Linked DNA regions of Homo sapiens: all the other regions are linked to region 4. The links are contacts of gene promoters, found by promoter capture Hi-C in human tissues and cell types (Jung and others, 2019). All regions are on one chromosome and are shown on one strand. Each heading gives the region's core, a stretch centred on a gene start or on the middle of the fragment in contact. The rest is flanking DNA. Distances are from core to core; before and after follow the strand shown. Region 1 overlaps PPFIBP2 (PPFIB scaffold protein 2). Region 2 holds the start of ZNF214 (zinc finger protein 214). Region 3 has its middle 4.9 kb from the start of OR51D1. Region 4 holds the start of TRIM22 (tripartite motif containing 22).

The links. Contacts are between HindIII fragments. The study calls those that stand out against the background at their distance.
Region 1: a fragment that was not itself captured here is called in contact with the fragment with the promoter of TRIM22 in region 4 in 1 of the 25 tissues and cell types used here (pancreas).
Region 2: a contact is called between the fragment with the promoter of ZNF214 here and the fragment with the promoter of TRIM22 in region 4, in 1 of the 25 tissues and cell types used here (small bowel).
Region 3: a contact is called between a fragment that was not itself captured here and the fragment with the promoter of TRIM22 in region 4, in 1 of the 25 tissues and cell types used here (small bowel).

Annotation. Positions count from the first base shown.
Region 1 is chr11:7,519,335-7,524,382 of GRCh38, forward strand. All of the region lies in intron 1 of PPFIBP2 (PPFIB scaffold protein 2), which reads left to right. All of the region lies in intron 1 of LOC124902806 (leucine-rich repeat extensin-like protein 5), which reads right to left. Among named protein-coding and RNA genes, the nearest start is that of PPFIBP2, 7.9 kb to the left of the region's middle. RefSeq lists enhancers at 733-862, 943-1,052, 1,083-1,132, 1,873-1,922, 1,993-2,172 and a silencer at 2,250-2,450. The HindIII fragment of the contact is 3,522 bases long and covers 1-3,251 here.
Region 2 is chr11:7,018,867-7,024,299 of GRCh38, forward strand. It overlaps ZNF214 (zinc finger protein 214), which reads right to left and starts at 1,480. Exons shown (of 3, transcript NM_013249.4): 1 at 1,207-1,480. NLRP14 (NLR family pyrin domain containing 14) reads left to right here and starts at 1,613. Exons shown (of 12, transcript NM_176822.4): 1 at 1,613-1,904. The HindIII fragment of the contact is 7,176 bases long and covers 1-3,271 here.
Region 3 is chr11:4,630,164-4,634,980 of GRCh38, forward strand. No RefSeq gene overlaps it. Among named protein-coding and RNA genes, the nearest start is that of OR51D1, 4.9 kb to the right of the region's middle. The HindIII fragment of the contact is 5,020 bases long and covers 633-4,817 here.
Region 4 is chr11:5,687,872-5,692,964 of GRCh38, forward strand. It overlaps TRIM22 (tripartite motif containing 22), which reads left to right and starts at 1,919. Exons shown (of 8, transcript NM_006074.5): 1 at 1,919-2,028. It overlaps LOC124902620 (a long non-coding RNA gene), which reads right to left and starts at 4,883. Exons shown (of 2, transcript XR_007062561.1): 1 at 2,807-4,883; 2 at 2,356-2,425. RefSeq lists enhancers at 1,599-2,591, 1,713-2,052, 2,024-3,223, 2,639-2,738. The HindIII fragment of the contact is 9,408 bases long and covers 1-4,145 here.

The DNA of each region.
Region 1 (5,048 bases), core at 241-2,740, 1.8 Mb after region 4:
GAACAGGTGAGCAAGAATTGCAGAGGTCGGGTTGTGATCTGAGTGCCAAAAGGCCTGGAAATAAGGAATTTCTTCCTATTTCTTCGGTCGTTGGCAATACTTGCTTAAATCAGTTAAAACTGTAAAGTCGAATGTTTCATTTGCCGGCCATTTGGACCGTTATCTAATTTGTACTGTGGCCAGACTGAATTGCAAAAAAAGAAAAGGCGCTTAGGGCGGATATCTTGCCTGAGGCCTAAGGTTTGCAGGTTTTTTATGAGGCAGCCTAGAGGGCTGTTTTTTAGAATGGAGGGCCGGGAGTTTCCCATAATGAAGGGTAGGCACAGGAGAACAGGGAAAAAGGAGACAGTCCTGGACAGCCGGACGGAGACGATAAAAGGAGCGATCGTCACCACTGCCTTTTTCATTCCTGGAACGGGATCAAATGGCTTAGAGGTGTCCCCCTAAGACCAGATGATCAGCGAGTGCCTGGCACACGCTGGAGCCTTTTTGGACCAACGTTGGATTTTCGGACCAGAGAAACCAAAAGAGGCCGAGCACGTTTTTCCCTGTTAACCAGGTTCCCGGGGAAGCTTACCAGTAGGTGAGATCAGTGACTGATCTGCATGCACAGAGAGGCGACTGGAGGCTAAGGAGCTTCCTTTGTCCAGCTGCTGTGGCCTGCTTTCCAGCATAGAGGGGTAGGTCCACGGGGGACACAGACCCGAGCCTCTCCCAGGTTTCGGCACCAGATGAAAAGTTCTTGTATTGGTTCAAACCCTGAGAGCGCTCCAACAGACAACACGAGGCGGTATGGCGCAACATGCTGTTTTAATGAGCGCCTGGGTGCAGGCAGGCTGAGGCCTAAAATGGCATCAGCACCAAATGAGGACAGGGCAGGGGTTTTACAGTCTCCTGTAAACAAGAAGTGTCTCAGTTTGAGGTAGCTGCTACGTGGTACCCAGACGGCCTCCCTTTTGGTTTTCAGGGGGTACGTGTCTTCCGGTTGGGGTGGGTATTTTCCGGCTGGCTCTTTTCCTGCTTTTGCTGTTTTGCCGACGCACGCTGCTAGCACAACTGGCCTTGCACCTTGGGACTGGGCCTGAGAAGAGAGGAGTTACTCATCTCTTCAACCTTTCAGACCCCAGGGAGAATTTTTCAGTTTAGAAGTGGTTTTTTACTTGGCCATAAGATTTTTTTTTTTTTTTTCCTGAAATGCAAATCTGTTCATGATGCTGTCGTGTTTGAAATCCTCTGGTGGATATCCTAATGCAAAATATAAGAAGGAAGCACTAATATAAACACAACTGATAACACTTGTTCCATTCTACAGCCTGTTCATCCCCATTCAAGATGTGACATTCAGTCCCCATTTGGTGTGGGCACAACTAGGCTGAAACTTTTGGCAGCTTTGTTTATTCCTGAGTCACTATTTTCCCTGCGTCCTTCTTCTTCAGAGGAGCTCCACCTCCCTTGGACTTTATGTTTCTTAGTATCATTTTTTGGTTCCAATGCTTGATGGCACCTATGTGTCTCTGTCTTCATGGAATCTATGTAGTTCTAGGAAAGGTGGGCTTTATCCTTTATACACCCTTAAAGCCAAGTCTTGTTTGACTGTGGATCTTCACAAGCTTCATTCTTATCTCTCACTCATCTGGTAAATAAGCCTCTAAAAGAGGCTGTCCTAGAATAATCTGTTTAGCTTTAGGCCCAGATCTCCTTAGTGCCTCAAGTTCCAGGGGACTGCTGACTCCGAGCTTTGTCTTCAGCAAATGTATGATTTCTGTTTGCCTTAAGGTCGTTGGCTTGGTTCTCCCTGGTTATTCTTACTTTCACTTCCTCTCTCTGTCATGTTCATATGTACACATTTATGCACACTGAAAGCTGAGCATTCATTGTGCTTGATGCTTTTAATCACCCTGTTCTATGTTGCATAGTAATCATGATCCCTAACATACCTGTAGATGGGAGGCCTAGACACAGAAGGAATAGGACTGTCTCTCTGATAGGATAAAATACACCATCCTTGTATGGCATTCAAATCTCTACAGTGGTGGGCCCTACTTTAGCTCTCCAGCTGCCTCTCCACTGTTCCCCAAACTGAGAAGCTGAGTAATTTCTATTCTTTTGTGCCTATCTGCATTTGCATACACTATTTTATCTTCCTGGAAAGCCCTTTTGTCTCTATTCTGCAAGATTATTAATCCTTCAGGATATAGATCAAATTCTTAAAGCTCCCTTGCCCCTAAGTCGTTTTTACTCTTCTGTTACATACATATCACATCAAACAAAGATCTGCTATGCTATTTCATCACTTTATGTCTATGTCTCTGTCCATATTCCTCCAAACTCTGAGCTGCTTTAGGGCTGTATCAGCTCTTGTGCGTGGCCCCACACTTAGCAGATGTCCAGGAGGAGTCTGTGGTAGATATGGGCCTTAAGCTGGCTGGCTTTGCAATGTTTACCTCAGTAAAGAGGGAAAGGGGCTGGTTATTTCGTATGGTAGACGAGAGAAGGAAGAGGAGCAGAAGCTGAAAGACTGGGAGGAAGGACAGGCCCAGTGAAGAGTGGGCCCATATGGCTAGAGTCAGGGGGTTGGGTGGACACTGGGAGAGGTGAAGATGGAGTCCCAGGCTGGGAAGAGATCATGGAAGGCCTTGAAAGTTGGAGCTATATAATTTAAATTTTATTCTGATGACATTAAAGTTTCCATACTCAAGTATGGAAAAGACGTGGTAAAACTGTTCAGGATGATTGTGGCTGGGAAGGGCAGGTTGGAGGGACAGGGAGGAACTTCTTATGAGCACAGGCTGTTAGAATAACCCACTGAGGTAGCTCAGGACCTAAATCAAGGCAATGGCAGTAGGAATAGAGAGAAGGGAGCAGAGGCAAGTGACCATGCCAAGAAATCCGGCAGGATTTGGTGACTGATTGTATTTGAGGGAAAGAGAAAAGCGTCAAACTGGATACTGACGTGTGTTAGTTTGCTGGGAGAAGAATGAGGCAACTGTTAGTAGCATGAAAGCATGGAGGAACTTAGTGGAAGGGGGAAGGGAAATGAAAGTGGTTGATTCTTTTGGAATCAGAAGGGAGCCTCGGGTAGTTTCTTGCTTGCCCTTTATATGTTTACCCATAAGAGGATGGTGAAGCCCAGAGAAACCTACCCAAGATCACTTAGCTCTTGATTGTAGAACCCAGGTCTACTGGCATTATGGCCTGGGCTTCTATCTTCTGTAGCACATGAGTTTAGCCAGAGGAGAGCTGCCAGAAGGTCGAGATGGAGATTCCATTAGGCAATGAAAAATGGGAATGAGACCAGGTTTGGGGTGAATTCAGCCTGCAGAACAGCTAAGGCTGGAGTCTTATAGGTCAAGCACCCAGATGGGAAATGTCTGCTAGTTGCCAATGCCATGGGGGCCCGAAGGCTCATGAGGCCTCCTTTTTGCCCTGTGGCCTAGCTGTATGTGGGGCTGATGGGAGATATGAAGTACTTTTAGGGTATCAGCGCTCTTATACTTATTATGCTCAATGTGGGCACGTGTATTAATTTTCTTCTGGGAATGTAACCACCAATCAATTTATCAATTCCATGGGAAGTTGTATTCCAAGGCCCAAACACCTCCTCTACCCAGACTTCAGGGCACATCCAGCCAGTTCATGAGAAGTTGCCTCTTATAGTGTTGGAGTGGGGATGGGGGTACAGGGAACAGCTAGCTAGGGAAGGCAACCAGCCATGAGGACCTCATCCAAGCAGGGTCCGGTGTAGAGTCAGGATCGGGGACTCAGATGGCTGGATGAGGGCTACAGCTGTCCGATGAGGAGTGAGGATCTTATCTGGAATCTGCACTGCTGTCGGGAGACTCAGTGGCCCTGAGGCTGGAGTTCTTCAATCCTCCTCACCCCTCCCTTCCACACACCTTTGCCCAGCCAGGCTCCTCAGCCTCCAGCCTCCCAGGATGGAGTCTTGTCTTTGTCATGGACGCTGACACAGTGGTCACTTCTGTTTCTTGAGGAAGAGCCAGGTTTATGAATGTGAAACATTTGAATTATTGTCTGAGTTGTGGTAGTTGCCAAATAAAAACATATACACAAAGAATACTGGGAGCCAACGTTGAAGGAAAACTTGTCAAACTTCCCTTTCTCTTTTGAGCTTTGTAGTGGGGTCTTGCCAGTTTATACCTCATCTTGTTCTGAAGGTTTTTTGTTTCTGTTTTTCATATTAAGGCCAAAATATGTGCACGAGCCTGCTCACCCATGGTAAAGTGTCAGGGACAGCCACAAATTGCACAGATTACAGACGTAGATTTGCACTTCCCATTTCTTAGGAAGTAGGTGGGTGGAGGAACCACTAATGCATCTCCAGGAAGGGATTTGTTAGCTCAAGGGAGGCTATGGGGACTAGATCCTACATTGCCTCTTCCCAGGCTTATGGTCGCTGTGGTGTTCCCAGGTGGCTCTGCTTCAGGTATGTCTCTTTCCTCCTGGGAATAGGGAAGGAGGTGATCCAGATCTCAGGATTTCTCTGCCTGCTTAGGGATGCCAGTGAGGTGTGTTTAGTGGGGATACTCTTGTCCCTGCCCTCCAGGGTAAAGTTACACTTCCACAGTAACTTGTGTGCATGGTTGAAATGCAGCCATCACATGCAGCTGGGCCTCTCACTCTGACCTGGAGGGCCACTCCTGTGACTGCACTGATTATCCCAAGAGGCCTTCTTAGCAAACTTCTCCAAGTTGCTTCTGGCGAAAGGTTCAGAGAACTCTGCCAAAAGGAACTACTTGGTTGACAACTCTGTGTGTGTGTCTGTGTGTGTCTGTGCGTGTGTGTGTGTGAGAGAGAGAGAGAGAGTTGTGTAGGAATCAAGAGGTTTGTAATAGGGACAAGGGGGACAGAGAGGGGGTAGAGCCACAGCTCAAGCTTAGGAAGATCAAAAATGGGTTACCTCTTTCTTGCCTGCTTAGGCAAGAAAGCCTCTATCTTCAGGGGCAACAGTTTCCTTCTCCCAACACACAAGTCCATGTTCCCTCCAAATCAAAGAGGTTTTTACACAAATAACTAGCTCAATGCTGGAC
Region 2 (5,433 bases), core at 230-2,729, 1.3 Mb after region 4:
GTGACTGAATGAATGAATGAGTAAATGTTGGGAAAAGACACTGGGTTGGGGCAGGGTCAAGTCTGCACGCTCGAAAATTTCACAGGCAAGCGAGGAACGTTTTCTGTCCAGTCATCCATCCATCCTCATTGCCACCTCCACCACCCATGGAGAATGCAGGGACATTTTGTAAATGAGAAAAGACAATCATCCTCACTTGGGATCAGACTATGAGGGAAACAGTGTACATTCCTTCCTCCTTTGTGTTCCTCTTCTGGGGAAGGGTAGAGTGCTGAGACGGCTGAGCTGAGGAGGAAGGCAGACTGAAAACCTGGGTATGGCTTTAAATTCCCAAATTCATTAAATTTCCCATATACTAACTGGGTATGACGCACACATCTCCTAGCAAGAGGTCCAAAAGAAGCCTATGAATGCTCTTGTTTCCTTTCAACGACCAGAAAGGAGAGCTATGAACACTGGCACCTTGAAATTTATTTCCAACCCTCTAGAAACTTCAAAAGATACAACTCACTTATTTATTGAGATTATTATTACTACTAACAATAATAGGAAAGCACCAGCACACTTAAATAGTATCTATTCTCAAGGTATTTTTCTTATTTTGTTCAGTTTAAGTAGAAAATCATTCCATTGTCCTCCCCTACTTGCTAAACAGGAATACTGGATTTACTATCAGAAAAGTACCTGGAGTCTTAGAGAAGTATCCCAGAACTGGAGCTCCCAGGTCCTGATCAAAGTCTCAACTGTGCCATCAAGCACTTGTAGAACTTTAAAGAGGACCAAACTTATAGATCTCCAAGATCTCAGTTTCCTTACCTGTAAAATGGGGGCATGAGCCTTTGCCACCCCAGTCCTTCCTTGCTGATCAAAGGTAGGTTCCTGGGCAAAGTAATAAGCAATTAGTTAACCCTCTTTCTCTAGGGAAAAAACGTTTCATGCGTGCCCCAAGAGCAGGACAGGTTTGGGCTCCCCCAACGCGTCACGGGCTGCCCAAGTGTAAGCACCAGAGAACCAGACACACGAACGGTTCTCTAGGAGCGGGATCTCCCGGTCTCCGCCACAGACCCGGGGGTCCCCTGCTCCTGCACTGAAGACGCGCGCGGCCTCCGTTGCTTATCCAGATCCCCGGCCAGAACTCTGCCCCGGCACCGAACACCGGGCACCCATACCCCGGGGCCCAAGCTGCTTCTGCCCTCCTCTACTTGCCTTTATTAAGTCTTAACGTGGGAGAGAAGCCGTGATGTACCCATCTACACGGGTGTCTCTGGGGTTTCTAAACCGGAGTAGCTTCTCAGTCCCTGACCCTCGATTTTCTGCCCCTCTTCCTTCAAGCACAGCTCGTCTTGCCCTGTCCGCTTCTGGCTCAGTCCTCCTGAGAGTTCATGTCACTTAACGGAGCCTGTGAGAGTGGACCGGGATGGCCAAAACACTCAGTCCACACAAACAATGGCCGCAGCCCGGCTGGACCGAAACGGAAGTCCCAGGTCTTGGAGTAGACACTCGCAGTGTTTCCATGGATACGGGAGGGGCGGGGCGGGAAGAGAGAGCGCGGGAAAACGTGACTCCTGATTGGCCAGAAGTATCCCGCGCCTCCCGACCTTTGGCCGCTGGCATTCCTGCGCGGGCGGGAGCTGCGGGCGCTCGGGGGATAAGGCGAGGACGCACCAGCATTAATGGAATAGGAGAACTCCCGAAGCTTTTAGGGCCCTGGGAAAGGGGGCGTGGCTGGAAACGGAGCTACTGGCTTCGGAGAATTCTGTGACCCTCACCACCGCGACGACCCCGAGGAAACGCTGTCAGGTCGCCTTTGGTTGGCAAGGCGTGGTTGTCCTCGCTGTCCCGCGCCTTGGCGGAATGGGCACCTCACTAGCCCTGGCACTAGCTAGCATCGCTCTAAACTCAAGGTTAGAGGTTTTCAAATTCCGTCCTATTGTTGCCAGACACCCTCTTCGTTCCTGGTCCAGTGAGGCTTTCCTCCCTCCCGCCTTCTTGCCAAATCCCAGGCTCCTCTGGAGACTCCAGGCAGAGAAGGGAAACGCACAGTGGAGCTGAAATGAAGCCATGAGAAGGAGCCCCTCCTCAGTGTCCTGGGACCACAGAGAGTTGCAAGAGCCTGTTCTATTATTTAGCTGAGTGTGTTATATTAGGAAAATACTTTCGCATCTTTGGGCCCTGTCCTTCAAACTTGGGCTGGATCAGTAATATTCAAACATTTTATTAGGCAAGGAACTTTTGGTAGGATAGTCATTACAAGCAAGGGACTCCTTGGATTCAAATCTGACAACACCACTTACGAGATCTTGGCTGGATTACCTAACCTTTAAGCATCAGCTTAATAGGCGTAATATTGATAGCCAATAATAATAGTAACTATGTAACAGACTTGTTAGATTGAAATGAGTTAGTGTAGTTAAAATGCTTAAACCAGCCCCTTGCACATAGGAAGTAGTCTTGTGAACTATATATTTACAGTTTGGTGTTTAGCAGGGGTGGGTGGCCCAGCGCCTATCTGCTTGAGTTCACCACACAATAAGCTCTTGCATTTTTTATGACTCTGGAGACCACATTTTGAAAATTACTGGGCGTGGGCCTTCCCTGGTTTGAACATTCAGAGAGCATAGCATAGCATTTTAAAAATGTGGGCTTTGTTGTCTGACGGAACTGACATTAAGAGCTGTCAATCATTGTTATCCACTAGGTGGTGGTAAGCAAGTTGTTTAACCGCTCACCCTTAAGTATTTTCACCTGTAAATTGCAATGTATTTATTTATTTATTTTTTATTATACTGTAAGTTTTAGGGTACATGTGCACAACGTCCAGGTCAGGTTTGTTACCTATGTATACATGTGCCATGTTGGTGTGCTGCACCCATTAAATCTGTCTCTGCATTCAGTAATTCAACTATCAATTGCGGCTATTTAAATACATTAAAAAGCAATGTATTTAAATAGCCGCAATTGATAGTTGAATTACTGAATGCAGAGACATTGACCGGTAAGAACGAACACTGGAAGTGGGCTGTTCTGCCACACTGCTTCCAACCTGAGAATATTACCTGAACCTCATTGAACTAACCAAAATTAAAAGAAAAAAAAAAAGCTAAGAGGATCCAGTTTTCAGAGAAACAAAATGTGTATCTGAAGGAATATACCTGCTAAAGGGCAGAGGCCAATATGAATAACAAAGAGCACCAAGTATAGCATACGCAAGACTTTTAGGAATGAATTCTACCCAGTTACAGTTTGGGGTTTAGCAGGGGTGCCCGGCCTAGAGCCTATCTGCCTCCGTCCACCACACAGTGAGCATCTGCATTTTTTATGACTCTGGAAGCTACATTTTGAAAATTATTGGTCATGGACCCTCCCTGGCTTGAATGTGCAGAGACCCAAAGCACCAGCTTTGATGGGGGTCCTGGGAGCAGTCACCAGATGCCTAGAGATGTACCCAGGGTAGGAGTGAAGAAACTGCCTTGCATGGGAAGAGAGGGATAGCCCAAGTTCCTAGTCCAAGATGTTGCAGATTCTTCATAGCAAATAATTGAAGAATCTAAGAATATGACTGTGGCTTGAAGGCATAGAATTTTCCATAATTTTGGTTAATGTCACATAACTAAGAACAAAAATTGGAGTCAAGTCTGACAAGACAGCAAGGGATTTAGGGGCCAAGATCCTGATGAAAAGGGAATCTTTAAGCAGCCAACCTAAAACTTGGTGGTTTTCTCTTCAAACATTAGCAGAATTCTTAAGATGAACAGGGAAAGAAGATAAGAAGAAAGCTGTTGAAGTGCACAGAAAATTTTCAGAAGTCTCATCACAGATCGGAGGAGATAAAGATTATAGTTCAAAACCCATCAAGGAATAGATACCCAACTAGAATTCCTGGAGAGCAAAAGAATAAGAACAGAAGCAAACTGGCAATAAATAGAGATATAGCTGCAATTCAACTTTGAGTCAGCTCCATACCTGACTGGATTGTTATTATCTGCCCCCTCTCTATCTGCCTATGAGAGGAACTCTCTCAGGAGGAATATTATCATTCAGAACTTCTACAGTGTTTCGTATACAATGTCTGATAATTCACCCAAAAATTATAAGGACAGAAAGAAAGACAATAGAAACAAATTCATGGATGACTAAATTATTGAGCCAACAAATATATATTTTAAACATAATGGTGATTAATATGTTCAGTAATGGTGAAGAGTTGACAAGATCAGGAATTTTAATTGAAAATCAAATTAAAATTTTATGAATAAAAATAAAATTGAGAATGTAATAGGTGTGTATGACAGCAGATCAGATCCACCAGAGAAGAGGAAAGAATACGAATACCTGAATGAGAAGATAACCATTTTATATACACATATAAAATTTTAAATATGTTTAAATTTTAATTTTATATATATAAAATCTTAAAATAGGTATTTTAAGATTGATAAAGTATATATTTTATAAAATAAAATTTTAAATATATAATTTTAATTATATTACATATATAAATATATATATCATGTTTAGCTTGGAAATTTTTTATATAAAAACATTTTTATATAAAAACATTTGTACTATAAAATTTTTATTTTATATATGTATAAATCTATTTTTACACAAAAATATATAAGTATAAATATATAAAAATTTATGTATTAATATATAAAATATATTTATATTTATATTAATATATTTTATTTATATTTATATATAAAAATCTCCAAGCTAAAGTGCAGAGAAGAAAGCACAGAAAAGAACATAAGAAATTATATTAGGCCATCTTGCATTGTATAAATAAATAACTTGAGACTGGATAATTTATAAAGAAAACAGGTTTAATCTCACAGTTCTGCAAGCTTTACAGGAAGTACGGTGCTTGCATCTGCTTGGCTTTTGGGGAGGCTTCAAGAAGCTTACAATCATGATGGAAGGTGAAGGGGCTATGGGCATGTCTCACATGGTGGGAGAAGCAGCGAGAGAGGGAGAGTAGGGAGGGAGGTTCCTCACACTTAACCAGATATCATGAGAACTTACTATCACAAGGACATTACCAAGCCATGAGGGACACACCCCCATTACCCAAATACCACCCACCAGGCCCCACCTCCACTGTTAGAGATTACATTTCAACAGGAGATTTCAGTGGGGACAAATATCCAAACTATATCAGAAACATATGAAACACAATGAAACAATGATCTAACATACAAAATTAGAGTCTCAGAAAAGATAAAATGAGCAAAGATCAATATGTGAAGAAATAATAATTTAGAATTTTCCAAGCCTGATGAAAAATACTAATCCACAGTGTATAATTTCATTGTAACTCTCAAATGGTATATTGAAATCCTACAAATATTTCCAGGGATGCTTGGAGCCATGGTTTTGATCCTTGGCCAAACCAGAATAGAATATGCTACATAGGAATTAATGCAGTTTTGT
Region 3 (4,817 bases), core at 1,893-4,392, 1.1 Mb before region 4:
CCAAGCAAAGGGAAAGCAAAAAAAAAAAAGAAAAAAAAAAAGCAGGGGTTGCAATCTTAGTCTCTGATAAAACAGACTTTAAACCAACAAAGATCAAAAGAGACAAAGAAGGCCATTACATAATGGTAAAGTGATCAATGCAACAAGAAGAGCTAACTATCCTAAACATATATATGCACCCAATACAGGAGCACCCAGATTCATAAAGCAAGTTCTTAGAGACCTACAAAGAGACTTAGACTCCCACACAATAATAGTGGGAGACTTTAACACCCCACTGTCAATATTAGACAAATCAATGAGACAGAAAATTAACAAGGATATTCAGGACTTTAACTCAGCTCTGGACCAAGCGGACCTAATAGACATCTACAGAACTCTCCACCCCAAATCAACAGAATATACATTCTTCTTAGCACCACATAGCATTTATTCTAAAATCGACCACATAAGTGGAAGTAAAACACTCCTCAGCAAATGCAAAAGAATGGCTGGCTCAACATACACAAATCAATAAGTGTAATCCAGCACACAAACAGAACCAGTGACAAAAACAACATGATTATCTCAATAGATGCAGAAAAGGCCTTCTGTAAAATTCAACACCCCTTCATGCTAAAAACTCTCAATAAACTAGGTATTGATGGGTGGGACATATCTCAAAATAATAAGAGCTATTTATGACAAACCCATAGCCAATATCATATGGAATGGGCAAAAGTTAGAAGCATTCCCTTTGAAAACTGGCACAAGACAAGGATACCCTCTCTCACCACTCATATTCAACATAGTATTGGAAGTTCTGGCTGGGGCAATCAGGCAAGAAAAAGAAATAAAAGGTATTCAAATAGGAAGAGAAGAAGTCGAATTGTCTCTGTTTGCAGATGACATGATTGTATATTTAGAAAACCCCTTTGCCCATGCCTCCAGCTACAAAACAATTCCATTGCTGTTTTTGTTTTTGTTTTTGTTTTTTTGGTCCAAAATAAAACCTCAGCTAGCTCTGCCAAAAAAAAAAGAAAAAGAAAAAAAGAAAAAAGAAAAAAAAAAAAAACCCATTGTCTCAGCCCCAAAACTCCTTAAGCTGATAAGCAACTTCAGCAAAGTCTCAGAATACAAAATCAATGTGCAAAAATCACTAGCATTCCTATACACCAATAATAGACAAACAGAGAGCCAAATCATGAGTGAACTCCCATTCACAATTGCTACAAGGAGAATAAAATACCTAGGAATACAACTTACAAGGAACCTGAAGGACCTCTTCAAGGAGAGCTACAAACCACTGCTCAAGGAAATGAGAGAGGACACAAACAAATGGAAAAAAATTCTATGCTCATGGATAGGAAGAATCAATATTGTGAAAATGGCCACACTGCCCGAAGTAATTTATAGATTCAATGCTATTCCCATCAAGCTAACTTTGACTTTCTTCACAGAACTAGAAAAACTACTTTAAATTTCATATGGAGCCAAAAAAGAACCTGTATAGCCAAGGCAATCCTAAGCAAAAAGAATAAAGCTGGAGGCTTCATGCTACCTGACTTCAAACTATACTACAAGGCTATAGTAACCAAAAGAGCATGGTACTGGTACCAAAACAGGTATATAGACCAAAGGAACAGAACGGAGGCCATAGAAATAACACTACACATCTACAACCATCTGATCTTTGACAAACCTGACAAAAACAAGCAATGGGGAAATGATTCCCTATTTAATAAATGGTACTGGGAAAACTGGCTAGCCATATGCAGAAAACTGAAACTGGACCCCTTCTTTACACCTTATACAAAAATTAACTCAAGATGGATTAAAGACTTAAATGTAAAACCCCAAACCATAAAAACCCTAGAAGAAAACCTAGGCAATACCATTCCAGACATAGGCATGGGCGAAGACTTCATGACTAAAACACAAAAGGCAATGGCAACAAAAGCCAAAATTGACAAATGGGATCTAATTAAACTAAAGAGCTTCTGCACAGCAAAAGAAACTATCATTACAGTGAACAGGCAACCTACAGAATAAGAGAAAATTTTTACAATCTATCCATTTGACAAAGTCTAATATCCAGAATCTACAAGGAACTTAAACAAATTTACAAGAAAAAACAACCCCATCAAAAAGTGGACAAAAGATATGAATGGACACTTTTCAAAAGAAGGCATTTATGTGGCCAATAAACATATGAAAAAAAGCTCATCATCTCTGGTCATTAGAGAAATGCAAATCAAGACCACAATGAGATACCATCTCACACCAGTTAGAATGGTGATCATTAAAAAGTCAGGAAACAACAGATGCTGGAGAGCATGTGGAACACTTTTACACTGTTGATGGGAGTGTAAATTAGTTTAACCATTGTAGAAGACAGTGTGGCCATTCCTTAAGGATCTAGAACCAGAAATACCATTTGACCCAGCAATCTCATTACTGGGTATATACCCAAAGGATTATAAATCATTCTACTATAAAGACACATGCACATGTATGTTTATTGCAGTGCTGTTCACAATAGCAAACACTTGGAACCAACCCAAGTGCCCATCAATGATAGACTGGATAAAGAAAATATGGCACATGTACACCATGGAATACTATGCAGCCATAAAAAAGAATGAGTTCATGTCCTTTGCAGGGACATGGATGAAGCTGGAATCCATCATTCTCAGCAAACTAACATAGGAACAGAAAACCAAACACTGCATATTCTCACTCATAAGTGGCAGTTGATCAATGGGAACACATGGACACAGGGAGGGGAACATCATTCACCCGGGCATGTCAGTGGGCGAGGGGCAAGGGGAGGGAAAACATTAGGACAAATACCTAATGCATGTGGGACTTAAAATCTGGATAATGGTTGATAGATGCAGCAAGCCACCATGGCACATGTATACCTATGTAACAAACCTGCATGTTCTGCACATGTATCCCAAAACTTAAAATTTAATAAAAAAAAACTACTAAACTATTTTCCGGAGTAGTTGTGCCATTTTACATTCTCGCCTGCAATGCATTAGAGGTTGTTTCTCTGCATCTTCACTAGCATTTGGAGATATGCCATGCTCACTTATTTATAAAATAAAAGATCTATTTCTAGATAATTCCTAATGAAATTTATAAACTGCAAGTGAAAAAAAAAACTATCTGGCATGCATCTAGACAGATATACCTACAGAGGAAAGCTAAATCATACTGGCTGGCATGTAAGCTCCACAAAAGCAGGAGAGTTTGTCTGTTCTGTTCATTAAAGTGTTTCCATCACTTAGAAGAGTACCTGTCATATATTAGGCACTCAATAAATATTCATGGATGAATTAACTGCATTAAGAAGTCAATCTTTACTTGAGGTCATAAAAATATTCTTTTATATTACTTCAGGAAGGCTAATTGCTTTGCCTTTTGTACTTATATATGAAAACCACAAAGATTTAATTCTTATAAGTAGTGTGAATTTAGGGTTCAAATTTTATTTTCTTCTATATGGATATTCAGTTATTGTAGTATCATTTAATAAAAAAATTCTCCTTTTCTGATTGCCTCACAGAATTACCTTTGTCATTTAACAACTGGCTGTGTATGAGTGGGCATACTTCTGAAATTTTATTTCCATTCATTGGCTCAACTGTCTATCCCTGAACAAATACCACATATGCATAATTACTATAGTTTTTAAATTTTTGATATTTAGTATATAAAATCTCACTTTGTCCTATTCTTCTAGAGTTTTGTGGCTAATTTTGGCAATTTACATTTTTATGTATATTTTAATCAAGCTTACCAAATTTTACACAATCACCAATTAGGATATTATTGGGAATGTATTGATTCTATGGAAAAATTTGGGGGCTAAGTAGATTCTTCACATTATCGAGTTTTCCAGTTAAAAAGAATAGTGTTTTCTTCCATTTATTTAGGTCTTCTTCAGTGTCTTTTAAGGATGCTTTGTGGTTTTCTGTGCAGAAATTCCTCTACATTCTTTGTTAGATTCACTCTTAGACATCTGATTTTTCTGTTATTGTAAATGCTTAAAAATTTTATAAAGAAATACAGTGGAATTTTGTAAGTTGACCTTGTATTCAGCAATCTTTACATACTCATTTCTAATAACTTATCAATACAGTCTTTTGGATTTTCTACATATACAATCACTAATCTACAAATAATGACTAATTTCATTTTCTAACTCTCATATCATGTTTCTTTTTCTTGCTTTATAACAGGTTATTAACACAAGGAATCATTTTTATCTTTAGGTACCATTACACTCTTTCTTTTCATGGGAGGTTGTAGGGATTTGTGTGTGACACACATATCATTATCTCGTAACAAAAAACAATGGCATTGGTCATCTAAAAATGAAATTTGGATACTAAAGAAACAAGAAAACATCTTACAGGAAAGACCTTCTTATAGAAATAGCACCTAAAACAGAATCTAAATAAATGTTAGTTTTTAGAGGAGGGAAACAAAGAGGTTGACCATTCCAGATAAAACAAGCATTTGAGCAAATGCTTAGAAGAAGGTGTACAGATAGAGAACTTTATTTAAGGAACTAGAAAGATGCCAATGCAGGGCCGTATTGAGGGAGAGTTGAGGTGTCATGAGATGGGGCTGTCGAATTAGGCAAGTTCATATCTTTTAGGACCTCCTAAGCCATGAGTATATGTTTGGCCAAAGCTCTCCGTTATCCATTGGACCTTTAGCATTCCATTTACATTGAGTGATTTTTCCTCCCTTCTTTCCTTCAAAAAATATTGAAATATAAGTAGAGGGAAAACTATTATTTTTAAAGTCATACTTTGGGTCAC
Region 4 (5,093 bases), core at 669-3,168:
CTGGATAAATGAGTTCATTCACTTTGTCCATTGTGGTTGACACTCGGACTCCACTCTGTGCACTCCAGAAAAAACACATTCACTCACTGAGCGCTCACTCCCCTACAAATGTCAACAAGATATTCTATTCAAACATGGAATATACCTAAAATTACATCTCTTGCTTATTTATCTTCAAGAAGAAATAAGAAAATTTCACGCCTGTCTTAGTCAAGGTTCATCATAGCAATAGAACCACTAAACTATGAATTTATTTGGAAAGAAACTTGAGAAATGTCTCAGGTGATTCTGGAGACTGGCAAATCCAAAGTCTGCAAGGTAGGCCAAGAGGCTCTGGATCCAAGAAGGAGTCAACGTTATAGCTCACGCCTGAGGTTTGCCTGCTGGTAATATTCCCTCTTCTCGGGGAGAAGTCAGTTTTTTCTTCTATTCTGGCTTTCAGCTGATTGAATAAGGTCCTCATAGATATAAGTGAGTAGGAAAGAATTTATAGCCAGGATTAGCTTATTATTCTGTGAGCAACAAATAATACCAAAATATCTATTATTGAAATAATAAACATTGATTTCTCAGTCATCCTACATGTGTATCATTGATTAAAGTATGAAGATGGCCATGCTCCATAGTGTCAGTCAGGGATCCATGTTATGGAAGCTCCATGAGTTGCCTTTTTTTTTCTTTTTTTTTGGGTGTGTGTGTGTATGTGTTGTGTGGTGTTTGTTTGTTTGTTTTTTGTAGAGACAGGGTCTTACTATGTCACCCAGGCTGCAGTGCTATGGTGCAATGACGCAATCTTGGCTCAATGCAACCTCCACCTCCTGGGCTCAAGCCATCCTCCCATCTCAGTTTCCTGAGTAGCTGGGACTACAGGTGCACATCACCACACCCAGCTATTTTTTTTTTTTTAATTTTTCTTAGAGATGGGATTTCACCATGTTGCCCAGGCTGGTGTTGAAGTCCTGGACTCAAGTGATCCACCCACCTGGGCCTCCCAGAGTGCTGGGATTACAGGCATGAGACACCACAGGCCTCCATCAGTTTTTGATGGCATTATCTGGCACATGCAGTTAAACAAGAATACAATAGACAACAGGGTACAGAAGTATGTGCATGACGTATAACATGTTTCAGTGCTGCTTTTTAATTGATTGTGTAAAAATGACCAAACTTTTCTTAGAGAAGCAGGGAAAAGTGGAAAAATTATGAAGGCATGAGAGTAACTCAATGAATGATTATAATTAAACAGCATCATCTGTTAACTTCCATGTTCTCACCTGCCTCAGTGGCTGGGTAACATGACACTGACACAGTTTTACCTCTATTACTCTCTGGAATCCATCCTCATCTGGTCTGTCTGGATTAGGAGCAGGAAGTGATAATTAATTGATGGACTCTTAAGATTTAATGACATTTTGAGAACATTTTTTTCAATGGGCTCACACTAAAGATCCTTTTATTTATAAAAATAATTTTTTTACCATTCACAATGTCAGCTGCTAATACTCATCTTGTCAGCCCAAATTTGTAGAGCTTTATAACTGAGTATCTTCCTCGTCAGACTGCATTTCAAGAAGCTAGGTCCCAAGTCTCTGGATCTTTATTTTCCTGGCTTAGGTCTTAAATATAAGATAAATTCGACTAATAATTATAGGACTGCATTGGAATTCTAAGTATTCAGGCAAGCTGTATAACTGTAATTCACATTCTTTTTATTCAAATATTCTTGCTTGAGTAAACCACAGTAAGAATAAGGAAGTAGTGACTGAGTGCCTTGCCAGTACAGCAGATGCTAGAACATAATGTAGCATTACTTTCCCCAGGGTTTATTGTTATGTAAGTTCTTGTTCAGCTTCCTTTGTTTTCTTTCACTTCTGAGAATTTAACTTTCGTTTCTCACTCAGCTCCTGTGGGGAAACTCATTTGTGGAGACCAGCCCTCTGGCTTGGTGAGTGAATCTGGTTTACACCGGCTCCTGCCCTGCCTTCACTCTTCTCCCCTGATTCAAGACTCCTCTGCTTTGGACTGAAGGTGAGTGGAGCAATCTGTGGGAGCATAGAATGGGAGGCTTTGAGAAGAATAGATTGATTGTGTCTGGGTGAGTTTAATTTGTAGTTCTGAAGCTGCTCTGCATAAACAAAAAGAGGCAGCTTGTGAACTGTCTGCTGAGATGGCAGAGGAAGAAAGCACTGAGTCTGGGAGAGGGGTAACCTTTAAAGAAGAGAGGTTTGCAAAAGCAAAAAGCCTTGCTTGTTTCCTAGAGGGACCATTCATTTCTTCAATCTAGGTACCTCCATCACCTTCCTTGTTGGAAATAAAGCTCAGAATCTTAAGGGAGACGAGCACTCAAACAAAGGATTTCTCAGCAAAGCAATTTTATTTCTGTGCAGAGGGGTGCTTCTTCTTTGCCAGTCGCCATGAGAGCACACTAGAACAAAGGAGGAAGAAAGTTTTTATTCCTGACGCAAATCCTACCCCTTTGCCCTTTCCCCATTGGCTGGAGTCGGCCACACAATCTAAACTAGACTCAGTTGGCTAAACATTTTAACTTTCTTTAGATAAGGTGGGCACGTGAGGGAGAGAGGGGAGATGGGGAAGGGGTGTGTGTGATGAGCTAGATAACTAATCTTCTTCCAAAATAAGGAAAGGAATGTGAGTTGGTACTGATAACGCCTGGTACTGTGACATGTCTAGGCATGTAGCAAAAGCAGAAAGGAAAGAGAAGAGAAGAAAAGTGAAGTGGGGAGGGGCACTGTGAATTAAAGAATAAAGGATTGATCAGGCTATTTGAAGAGAAACCTTATCATACCCCACATTCCTATTCTGTCATTTTGATTTTTCCATTTTGCCAACGTGGATCAGAATTTTCTTTTATTCAGAGGCAGCAAATTCCTTCCTCCTTTCTCCCGAAGAAGCCTGTGCAATGAAGCTTTGTTTTCACTTTTCATAAAGCAACCTCATGATGAGGTTCAGCAGGGATGAGAGCCCTTATCTGGATCTGGGTATGAGGCGAAGGAGTCTTAGGTACTCAGTCTTCAGAAGTAAGGCCCTTTTGAAGGTTATCCTTTTACTTGCCTTCTGGTAACTTTTTGGATGCTGTCCATAGCTTTCCTGATAAATTAGCAGCCCTCTGGTTAGTCCGAGGAGAGAGGCCGCAGGACGGGCAGACTGCTGCTCATCTCTGCAGCTCCACTTTGGTCTCTTGTCTCTGAAGGTCCAGTCACAGGGAACTTGTTCTTCTGAGTACCCACAGCTTACTCTTCCTTTGTAGCAGGACCAGCCACAGAAAAAACTCCTCAGACACCGAGGTAAAGAAGGAAGGGGTTTATTCGGCCAGGGGCATAGGCAAGACTCCTGTCTCAAGAGCCGAGCTCCTCGAGTGAGCAATTCCTGTCCCTTTTAAGGGCTCACAACTCTAAGGGGGTCCGCGTGAGAGGGTCGTGATCGATTGAGCAAGCAGGGGGTACGTGACTGGGGGCTGCATACACCGGTAATTAGATCGGAACAAAACAGAGTAGGGATTTTCACAGTGCTTTTCTATACAATGTCTGGAATCTATAGATAACAAACCAATTAGGTCAGGGGTCCATCTTTAACTACCAGGTCCAGGGTGTGGCCCCGGGCTGTCTGCTTGTGGATTTCATTTCTGCCTTTTAGTTTTTACTTTTTCTTTCTTTGGAGGCAGAAATTGGGCATAAGACAATATGAGAGGTGGTCTCCTCCCTCAACTTCTGTAGCACCCAATGAACCTCTGGTATCCACTCCTGTTTTAGAAGTTGCTATTATTCTAGGTACACCTTTTCATCATGAGTTACCTCAACTCCCTACTCAATTTTCCCTTGCACAGAGCTAAGGCAAGGAGTTGGTAATTTCTCCTGAGTCTTATCTCGATCTTATCGCTGAGCATTTTGTACCTTGATGCCTATGTCACCCATATTCTGATGTGTCCTTTTCTTTGTTTCACTTTTCAGAGGTCCAGGTAACTGTCTCCTTATGTGTCTGTACCGCACATCTTGTCAAGGTCCATATCTAGTATTTATTCATTGTCAAGTCTAGTACAGGACCCAATAAATAAAACTGTACTTTTAATTTTTGAAAAATATTTTTGACTAAATTCACAAAACAAAAGCATACAGGTATAGTAAAAAAACAAAAACAAAAACAAAAAAACTATCTATTCGATATATAATCAACATTAAATACCGGTAAGAGATTATGCTCTGGACTAGGGAAAAGGAAGTAAACACGCAGTCAAAAAAAGGAAGTAAACCAGCAGTTTTAATGTAGCAAAAAGGTAGCAGTTACTAGAGGATAAATGTAAAACCAATAAAACAAAAGCAACAAACTAAAAGGGCTGCAATAGGATGTGGTATCTGTAGTGCTCTTGTCAAGGGCTTTGCAACTTTAAATAGATTTCACATTAGGTCTCACTGTGAGACAATGATTTTGAGCAGTCTTCAATAAAATGATGGATTTAAGAACTGATGAACTAACTGTGAGAGAAAGAGATGACACTGGGGTAGCTTTATGAAATCTGTCCTCTGTTACAAAATGACTTATCTGAAACATATTGACCAGAGAGTTAGAACTCTTGGAAAAAGGGTCATTACTTGGGGAAAACTAAACCCTGGACATTTTAGTGGGTCATTGAAAAAGGAACTCTGAGTTTAGACAAATAAGAAGTGGTAACGGTGTTTCTGAGTTCTCCAGGTTTCTGCATGCCAAGAACAGGACCTATTTTCTCCATTGGTAGTTCCTGACCCAAGGAACAGGGGAAATTTAAAAGATGTTGGCTAGGCCAGGCACCTGGTGGCTTGTGCCAAAGCCTAGCCAAAAATCCCAGCACTTTGGGAAGCCAAGACTGGAGGACTGCTTGAGTTGAGGAGTTTGAGACCAGCCTGGGCAACGCAGTGAGACCTTGTCTCAAAAAAAAAAAAAAAAGATATTGATGGCTAAACCCCTTATAATTTTTCTCCTTATTGTGTAGCCACACTAATTTAATTTAATCTTTTTTTTTTTTTTTCTTTTGACGGAGTCTTGCTCTGTTGCCAGGCTGGAGTGCAGTGGTGTGATCTCAGCTCACTGCAACCTCCGCC